Linked DNA regions of Homo sapiens: all the other regions are linked to region 2. Evidence: promoter capture Hi-C in 16 types of primary human blood cells and fetal thymus (Javierre and others, 2016). All regions are on one chromosome and are shown on one strand. The core of a region is centred on a gene start or on the middle of the fragment in contact, and the rest is flanking DNA. Distances in the headings are between cores, read along the strand shown. Region 1 overlaps ANPEP (alanyl aminopeptidase, membrane). Region 2 holds the start of ZNF710 (zinc finger protein 710). Region 3 holds the start of ANPEP (alanyl aminopeptidase, membrane).

Region 1 (2,752 bases), core at 155-2,654, 210 kb after region 2:
AGGCTCCATGTGGCCTGAGGGCCCATCGGACCTCTTTATACAAAGACCCAAACTGAAACTCTAGCTCACCCCACTGGCTTGAGGTTATACAGTTTCTAGGTGTTGAAACTGGGGCTGGAGCCTGTTCCTGCCCTTCTGGGTCACAGGGCTGCTTTGGGGACCAAGGAACCTCAGGCCCAAGGCACAAAGCACATACAGCGGGGGTCAGAGGGCCAGTTAGGCCACAGAGCCTTAGGCAGGGTGCCGGCCTGGGGTTGTGTGTCAAGAGGTGAATCTTGGCTGGAGTTCGCCAGGTGTGCTAACCGCGTGTCACCCCTGGGGCAGGTACAGCGAGGTTAATGCCATCAGCACCGCCTGCTCCAACGGAGTTCCAGAGTGTGAGGAGATGGTCTCTGGCCTTTTCAAGCAGTGGATGGAGAACCCCAATAATAACCCGTGAGTGTCTCCCCTGCGCCTCCTCTGCCAGTCTTCATCTGCCCCCAACAGCCCCGTCCTCAGCAGAACCCTGTCCCACCCTCCCCGCTGCTGTTCCACACCTGACCTCCCTACCCCACACCAGGATCCACCCCAACCTGCGGTCCACCGTCTACTGCAACGCTATCGCCCAGGGCGGGGAGGAGGAGTGGGACTTCGCCTGGGAGCAGTTCCGAAATGCCACACTGGTCAATGAGGCTGACAAGCTCCGGGCAGCCCTGGCCTGCAGCAAAGAGTTGTGGATCCTGAACAGGTGAGTCTTGGCGCAGGGTGGGACTGCGAGAGCCCTCTCCCCACCTGGAGAACCAGGCAGGCCTCCACACTCCTCGCCAGATCCTTCACGTGACCCCCACAGACCTGTTGAGGTGGAGGCAGTATTTCCAAAGTAACCGGTGCAGACTGGAAGCTTTAATAAGTGATAGAGACAAGATATGGACTCAGGTCTGGGTCCATGTCCTCTGTTCCTAGCTGCTGTGGCCTCTTAGCCTTTACCTGACAACAACTCGTCTTCCCTTCTGTCAAAGGCTCTGGTGTAGCTGGACCTGGGTCTTTTCAAACATCCAGCTGGGCACCCCCTCAAGCCCTTGGATGAGGGTCCCCACCTCCCACCATGTGCCTCATATGCCATTACCTGGATGCAGTAAAGAAGAGCCACCCTTGGGCAGGGTGTGGTGGCTCATACCTGTAATCCCAGCACTTTGGAAGACTGAGGTGGATGGATCACCTGAGGTCAGGAGTTCGAGACCAGCCTGGCCAACATGGAGAAACCCCGTCTCTACTAAAAATACTAAAAATACAAAAAAAAAAAAAAAATAGGCATGGTGGCACATGCCTGTAATCCCAGCTACCCGGGAGGCTGAGGCAGGAGAATCACTTGAACCTGGCAGGCGAAGGTTACAGTAAGCCCAAATCGCTCCACTGCACTCCAGCCTGGGCGACAGAGTGAGACTCCGTCTCGAAAGAAAAGAAAAGAGAAAAGAAAAGAAAAGAAAAGAAGGGCCACCCTCAGTGTCAAAGACGGGAGTGACCACCCACCTGGTGCCAGGGCTTGGGGCGCTAGGACTCCTTCCTTCATTGATTCATTGTCAAATATTTCTATGTCAGGCATGACACTAGCTTAGCCAGTGACCCTGTGACCCTGCTTAGGTGACTCAGTTTTCCATCTATAGAGGGAAGAAGGACCAAGGGGTCCCTCAGCCCCTGGCAGGCCGAGGGGATGTTGAGAGGATGCAGGCATAGGTGATGTGCGTGGGACAGTCCAAGTTCTCTCCTGAGTCACCTGAATTAGCAGTAGCTGAGACAGCATCTGGCCCTCTTAGGTACCTGAGCTACACCCTGAACCCGGACTTAATCCGGAAGCAGGACGCCACCTCTACCATCATCAGCATTACCAACAACGTCATTGGGCAAGGTCTGGTCTGGGACTTTGTCCAGAGCAACTGGAAGAAGCTTTTTAACGAGTGAGTCTGTGGAATGGGTGTCAGGGACAGCGAGCGCCGAGGCTGGGGCCCCGGGGGGTGGCCTGTGCGGGTAAGACACGCCGGGGGCACTAACCAGAAGTGGACAAAAATCAGCCAAGCCTGGGGGCTAGGGTGGGGCAGGAATGGAAAGACAAGCTGGGGTATGGGCCGTCCCTTTTCCCATTTGGAAGGAAAACGTGGCGTGTGGGCGTATTCTCCAGAAGAGAGGGGAGTGAGGAACTCGGCAGTCAGACCTGTGTTCAAGCTGTGACTCCCCCACATCCTAGTGGGGTCTCCCAGGGCGTGTCATTTCATCTCCTCTATAATCATGGCTCCCTACCCAGTAGGTGTGAGGATGAGCCTCCTTAGTTCCCGGCCTCCCTCACAGTTCACCTCTCTCCCTCCCTGCAGTTATGGTGGTGGCTCGTTCTCCTTCTCCAACCTCATCCAGGCAGTGACACGACGATTCTCCACCGAGTATGAGCTGCAGCAGGTAAGAAGTCATTCCCCAGACCTGGGCTCTGCCTACTTCCTTCCCAGGCCAAAGGGGCACTCCATTCTTCTCCCACGTGGCCCTGAGGGAGCACAGGCTCCACGCCGCCAGGCCTTCCTCATTTACAGAGGAAGCCGAGTAGCCAGACTTTGGAAATGTTGATAATTCAATTTAAAAAATTCATCTTGGGATTTTTGTATAGGCACAAAAGGGAAGAGTGGTATAATGAACCTCCATGTACCCGTTACCCAGGTTCAACAATTATCAACATTTTGCCAGTACTTTTTCCGGGCGGGCAATTTTTAAGCAAATCACTGATCATGTA
Region 2 (3,101 bases), core at 241-2,740:
CCCTTTCAGGTTGGTTAAAATCCACACAAGCACCTCCCTGGCCTCTTAAATCTTTCCAAACTACAGCTTAGACTGGAGGGAAGCAGTTGCAGCGCCCATAAAAGTCATCTTAAAAGGCAAGTTGGAAAAAAACCCGATACGCACTAGTTAGCAAGTCCGCGGTGAAGGGGGCGGTGGCCCAAGGGCCGGATCTGCGGGATCTGTGCGCCTAGGGTGGGGAGGCTGGGGCTGCCCCGTCGGTCCCCGAGCCCGCGCGCCCACCTGGTAGCCTGAGGGCCCCGATCTGACGCTGGTGCTCACGCCCCACAGCTCCATCCAATTAGGAAAATGACCGCGAGAAGACGGAGAGAGGGCGACGAGGAGGAAGGGGGGCTGAGCCGCGGGAGGCTCAAGACGGGCCGTAGGGACCCCGCCCGCCACCCCCACCCCCACGCCCCCAGACAGCGAGCGCCGGTCCTGGGTCCCCGGCCCGCGGCGCCCCGACGCTGTCCCGGCGGAGATCCCGCGGCGCCCAGCGTGCGGCGGCCAGTGGCCCTCGGGGACGCCCCCAGCCCCGCCAGCGGCGCGCTCAGCTCTCCCCCACCCCCGGCCGGCTGGGACGCGCAACAACCCCACCCGCTCCGAGAATAAAGTTTGTGGGCAGCCGTAGGGGCGGGGCGGCGAGGGGGTGAAACTTTGAGTCCCGGGCCGGGTGTGGGGGGAGCGCACCCAGCACCGGGACACCCACGTGCGGGCCCGAGAGCCTCCGCCACCGTCGCCTCCCGGGCCTCCCGCGCCGCCGCCGCCGCCGCCGCGACGCTTTCCTTTCATTTTTGCCTCTCTCTCTCTCTCTCTCTCTCTCTCTCTCATTCGCGCGCTCTCCTCCCTCTCGCCCTCTTTCGCTCGCTCCCTCCCTCTCCCTTCCCCCTCCCCCTCCTCTCCCTCCCCCCCACCCCAGACGCCATCTCTCCCTCTTTCCCCGGCTCTCCCTCTCTCCCTCCAGCTCTCCGGCATGAGGGAATGTGGAAGTGAAAGGAAAAGACGACATGTTTGCAGCGCGGCGCGGGCCTGCGCGCGGCCGTCCCCAGGGAGAGGCGGGGGGCGGGTCGGCCGCGGCCGCAGCGACCCACCCCCGCGCCCCCCGCGCCCCCGCCGGCCGGCAGCGCGGGGCTGCGGGGCTGGGGCTGGGGCTGGGGCGGGGGGCCGCGCGGGACACTCACCCTGGGTCCGGGCGCGGCTCCTGCGCTGGGGCCCTCGGCGGGCCGGGCCGGGCCGGGCCGGGGGCTCCTGGCTGCCCACCGCCCGGGCTGCTGCTGTGCGCCCGCCGCCCGCCTCCACGCGCGCCCGCCGCCTGCTCCTGCCGCCCTCCCTCCGGCTCCTCTCTTTCTCTCTCTCCCCCCTCCTCTCGCTCGCTCTCTCGCTCGCGCTCTCTCCCTCCCTGGAAGAAGGGAATGAGGCAGGGCTGACGTGAAGGGATGCAAAACAGCTCCTCCTAAGCCAGCTCGCAGAGGAAGAGAGAGACAGAAAAGCAGCCCTTTTATCTCTCTTTTGTTTTCTCACTTCCTTCCACCCCCAACACCTCCCTCTTGTCAGCCCAAGTTTTCTTTTCTCTTTCTACCGCAGAGGATTTTTCTTCCTTTCTTTCTCTTTCTTTCGGTTCAACTCTCCCACTCGAATTGAAAGCCTGAAGGGTTTTCTTTCTCCTGTTTTTTTCTTCCCTCTTTTCTTCCTTCTTCCTCCTTTCTTATTTCTCTAAAAGGGTTTTGTTTGCTGTGGGAGTTTCGTTTGAAAATCAAGTCACGCCTTTTTTCCTTCTTTTCTTTCTTTCTCTCTCTCTCTTTTTTTTTTCTCCTCTCAGCAGAAAAGGGGAACAAAGATTAACTGAAGCGGGGAAGAGGCAGACCTCGCTTGGAAATGGGGGGCCCGGCCCTGTCCGGTACAAAGGGGGCCCGGGGGCCCTGCGCCCCGCCCCCCCCAAGGGAAGCCAGGGGCGTCCTCTGGAGAGGAGAGCCGGTGCGGGTGTTGGGGCACGGGTGCGGCTCCTGGGTGCCGGTTCCTTCCCAAGTGCGAGCGAGGGCCGCCGAGCCCGCCCCTCCCCAGCCAGAGGTGGCAAGCTGGGTGTGTGTGCTTCACTTATGTATTTTTAAAGTAGGCAGATGGGCCTGGAACAAACATCCCCGCAGAGCACTGAACAGCAAAAGCCTTTAAACAGCTGTTAGCAGAGCCCTGGACGGCCTGACTCGAGGGAGCGGCGCGGGCTCCGAGCGCCAGGGCCCGGGTGGAGAAGGGGCTCAGGGCAGCTGCTGGGATCGGCGGGCTGGCGGGGTCCCCGAGCCCAGGGCCTGGGCCTCGGCCCCGGGGCGCACTGCTGGGGGGCGCCGAGGCGTGGTCGCTGGCAGCGCGGCCGTCAGGTCCCTCTCGGCTCCCTGAGGGGCCGCGGGGTTTGGCACAGCCTCGCCGCCCTCCAGCTCCGGCGCAGGCCGGACACCAGGCCTCCAACCTCCAGAACACCCGCCACTCCGAGCCGTTTCTCGACTGCAACGCAGGGCGGGTCCGGAGCCCTCGGACAGAGCCGGGCAGTGCCGCCAGGAAGGGTCAATTATTCATGGGGCGCCCGGGCGTGCTCCCAAGACCTGCTCTGTCCTCGGGTTCTCCGGAGGAGTGGGGAGAAGACGGGGGAAAGTTCCCAAAGCAAAGTTGGTCACATTTGTCATTTTCCCAAGTAAGTATTGAGCACCTGCTGGATGCCGGGCCCTCGGACTGGGGCTGCAGCCAGGGGGAGAAACGTGAGGTCTCGGTGGGCCCCGAGAGCAAACTCAGGGAACAATGCAAGGGAAGCTGCGGCTCAGGACCAGGTCACCGGGAGGAAGGAAAGCCTGGATCCTCTCCCCTCCCTCTTCCCTTCCTTCCCTTCCCTTCCTTCCTCCCGGCTGCATCTCCTTGGCTCCACCCCTTCTCCTCATCAATTCCTCCCACACTTCCCTGCTCTCCCTGGCTTTTCACTGAAGGGTCCCTTCTCCCAGGGAGGAGCAGATGCTGAGCCCCATTGTCTCTCCCCCAGTGACTGCAGCCTCCCGGGGACACGACCTGCCACTCCTCACCCCTCCCCCCAGCCCTGAGCC
Region 3 (2,936 bases), core at 286-2,785, 190 kb after region 2:
CAGTCACAAAGCCATCAATTTGGACCATGCAGTGCAAGGCTTTAACTGTCCCAAGGATTCCAATCATGGATAAGGAAGAGCTTAAATTTGATTATAAATCTGAAAGTCTGGAAGTCAGCTTGAATATTGTGGTAGACATAATCATATCCTCCTCCTCAAAAGATGCCCTGGTTCTAATGCCCAGAATCTGTGAATATGTTATGCTACCCCACGAAGGGAAATTACAGTTGCAGGTGGAATTCAAGTTGCCAATCCATTGATTTAAAATAGAAAGATTACCCTGGATTATCTGGGTAGGCCCGATGTAATCACAAAGATGCTCACCAGTGGAAGCAAGAGGCAGAACAGTTGGTGTCAGAGTGACAGATTGTGAGAGACTGGTGGGCCACTGCTGGCTTTGAAGATGGATGGGGCCACCAGCCAAGGAATGTGGGCAGCTTCTAGAAGCCAGAAAAGCCAAAGAAACAGGTTCCCTTCCAGCCTCAAGAAAGCTGTATCCCTCAACCCCCTTGCTTTTAGTCCAGCGAGACCCATTTTGGACTTCTGATTTTACAAAACTTGTAAGATAGTAAATTAGTGTTGTTTTATGTTTGTGTTACGGCAGCCACAGGGAACCAATACAAATATTATCTGGTACCGCCCATTAAAGCTGCTCAGAGACAGGGAGCCCCACCCTGGCGGGGCTCCGGTGGCTGCACAACCTCTGCAAGCAGGATCAAGATGAGAGGCGCAGGCCAGGTGTGGTGGCTCACTCCTGTAATCTCAGCACTTTGGGAGGCCAAGGCGGGCGGATCACTTGAGGTCAGGAGTTCGAGACGAGCCTTACATGGTGAAACCCTGTCTCTACTAAAACTCCAAAAATTAACCAGGCGTGGTGGCGTGCACCTGTAGTCCCAGCTACTCGGGAGGCTGAGGCAGGAGAATCGCTTGAACCCAGGAGGAGGAAGTTGCAGTGAGCGGAGAAAGTGCCACTGCACTCCAGCGTGAGCGACAGAGCGAGACTCTGTCTCAAAAACAAATAAAGGAAAAAGAAAAAAATGAGAAGCGCGTGTTCCCGACTCCGGTGCTTTTTCGCAAGGTCGTGCTACTGCGCCTTCTGAACTACGAGTCCCAGGTACCAAGAAAGTTGAATTGCGTGCTGTGGCGGGTCCGTTATCTGCACCACCCGTCTGCACGGGATGCGCTGGCTTCCTGCCCCGGATGCACAAGGCTCCCTGCGGGACACTCAGGGCGAGGCTCTGAGCCCCTCCCCCGCGGCAGATGCCGTCCAGATGTGGCCGGCGGGTCCCGCGGGCTGCGGCGACAGGGACCCCGTCGGGGGCAGCAGGAGCCCTGGTGCATCCCAGGCCCCGGGGGGAAGGCCGGGCCGTCGGAGGAGCGGAGGAGCCCTGGGGGGCTCCCGGGAAGCCGCGGGCGGACGGGGGAGGAGCCCGGGCGGAGCTGCGGGCGGGCGGCCCGCTAGGGGTGAATCGGGTGGAGTAGTGGTCGGGTCCGGTTACTTCCCTTTAAAAAGACGGGAAAGGAGGAGTCCAGTGCTGGAGGGGCAGGGACGGCGGCGGCGCAGCTCGGAACCCGCCAGGGTCCAGGGTCCAGGTTCCAGCGCCCGGCGGCCCAGGCAAGTGGGGCGGGAGGGCGGGGGCTGCGGGCGCGGGTAGGGGTCGTGGGGCAGTTGGGTGCGCGGGAACCGAGGGAGCTGCAGACCCAGCGCTTGGCGCGTGCGGAGCTGGACTTCTGCGGCCGCGACGCCCCTCTTCCCAGATGGGTAAACTGAGGGCCAGGGAAAGCGAAGAATTCTTTTGGCCGAGCTCCCACTACGATCTCGCGGTCAAGTGGGTCCCCAGCGGGCCTCGCAGGGGTCGGAGGGGCTCCCATCTGGGGAGGGGGCCCCAGGGTGGGCGAGGGCGACGGGAGCCTGGGGAGGACGGACGGGGAGGGCGGCGGAGCGGAGCTAAGCTGCGGCGGGTGGACCCGGCTCGGCCGCGGCCACTCTGTCCCTGGTGGGTGGGGCGCGGCCGAAGGCAAAGGGCGAACCCGGCCCGCCTGTGGGGTCTCTGGCCAACACTGGGCTCAGAGGCCCTTTCTTTAACCTTAGATCTCGCTCCTCGGTCTAAAGCCTCCGCCGCAGCTCTCAGTGAAGAGGAAGGGGAACTCTAGGTGCTCAACGCCCGCGTTACAGTCGCGTTCTCCCTCGCTCCTACAACCCGGCCAAGATGCCGGGGCATGGATGGGGACCGAGGTTTGGGGGTTGTGGAGCCTATTCCACGCCCTCCCTGGTGAGCAACTGAGACAGATCCAGGGCCCCATTGCAATCCACTCTTGGTCTGGGAAAAGGTCCCCTAAACAGGGCCAATGGGATCCTTTCCCCAAATGACTCCAGAACGCACCCCCCCCCCCCAGCAGTGCGGTGGGCAGGGACGGCCCAGGTGGGCTATGTCCTGGGGTTTTGTGACTGGATCCCCACTCCTCCCCCACCTCAGCCCCTGGACTGCAACCCACCAGGCCGTGTTCGGGGGTGGTCAGAGCCCTGGTCTCAGCCAGACCTGAGGTCTGATGTGGCTTCATCCCTGAGTCTCTAAACGCCCTGGCCTTACTGGGCCTCAGTTAATTCACCTGTGAAAGGGGAGGCTTGGACCAGAGGGCCCCTCAGGGTATGTGTTTTGTGGAGGGGAGGTGGGCGTGTGGGGTAGGGGTGACCAGGAGGAAGTGGGGACAGCCTCTGTCCCACAGGAAGGCTGGCTAGCCCCAGTGGGTATGGGGGAGCTGGGCAGGGAAGAGGGTGGACTCCCCTCTCCCTGTGGGAGGGTGTGCTGGGCCCATGAGGCCCTCATCCACTCTCAGCCACCTTCCTGTGGAGCCCTAGCCTCGAAGGCCACACTATGAGTGCAAGGAGGCCACCCACAGCGCTGCTCCCGCTTCACAGGTGGGGAAACCGGCCC

What was found. Contacts are between HindIII fragments. The CHiCAGO score rates a contact against its expected background, and 5 or more counts as called.
Region 1: a contact is called between a fragment that was not itself captured here and the fragment with the promoter of ZNF710 in region 2, in 1 of 17 cell types (neutrophils). The highest score is 5.6, in neutrophils.
Region 3: the fragment with the promoter of ANPEP here is called in contact with the fragment with the promoter of ZNF710 in region 2 in 3 of 17 cell types (neutrophils, monocytes and M1 macrophages); the score reaches 12.1 in neutrophils.

What each region holds. Positions count from the first base shown.
Region 1 is chr15:89,790,135-89,792,886 of GRCh38, reverse strand. It overlaps ANPEP (alanyl aminopeptidase, membrane), which reads left to right. Exons shown (of 21, transcript NM_001150.3): 17 at 325-435; 18 at 560-727; 19 at 1,794-1,934; 20 at 2,346-2,427. Among named protein-coding and RNA genes, the nearest start is that of MESP2, 15 kb to the right of the region's middle. RefSeq lists an enhancer at 100-600. The HindIII fragment of the contact is 1,043 bases long and covers 883-1,925 here.
Region 2 is chr15:89,999,713-90,002,813 of GRCh38, reverse strand. It overlaps ZNF710 (zinc finger protein 710), which reads right to left and starts at 1,490. Exons shown (of 5, transcript NM_198526.4): 1 at 1,200-1,490. RefSeq lists an enhancer at 1-677 and silencers at 377-876, 1,292-1,460, 1,869-2,038. The HindIII fragment of the contact is 9,552 bases long and covers 1-3,101 here.
Region 3 is chr15:89,813,451-89,816,386 of GRCh38, reverse strand. ANPEP (alanyl aminopeptidase, membrane) reads left to right here and starts at 1,535. Exons shown (of 21, transcript NM_001150.3): 1 at 1,535-1,615. RefSeq lists cis regulatory regions at 1,152-1,154, 1,172-1,201, 1,200-1,203, 1,111-1,239, 1,491-1,496, promoters at 1,111-1,599, 445-1,599 and an enhancer at 1,467-1,966. The HindIII fragment of the contact is 11,363 bases long and covers 1-2,936 here.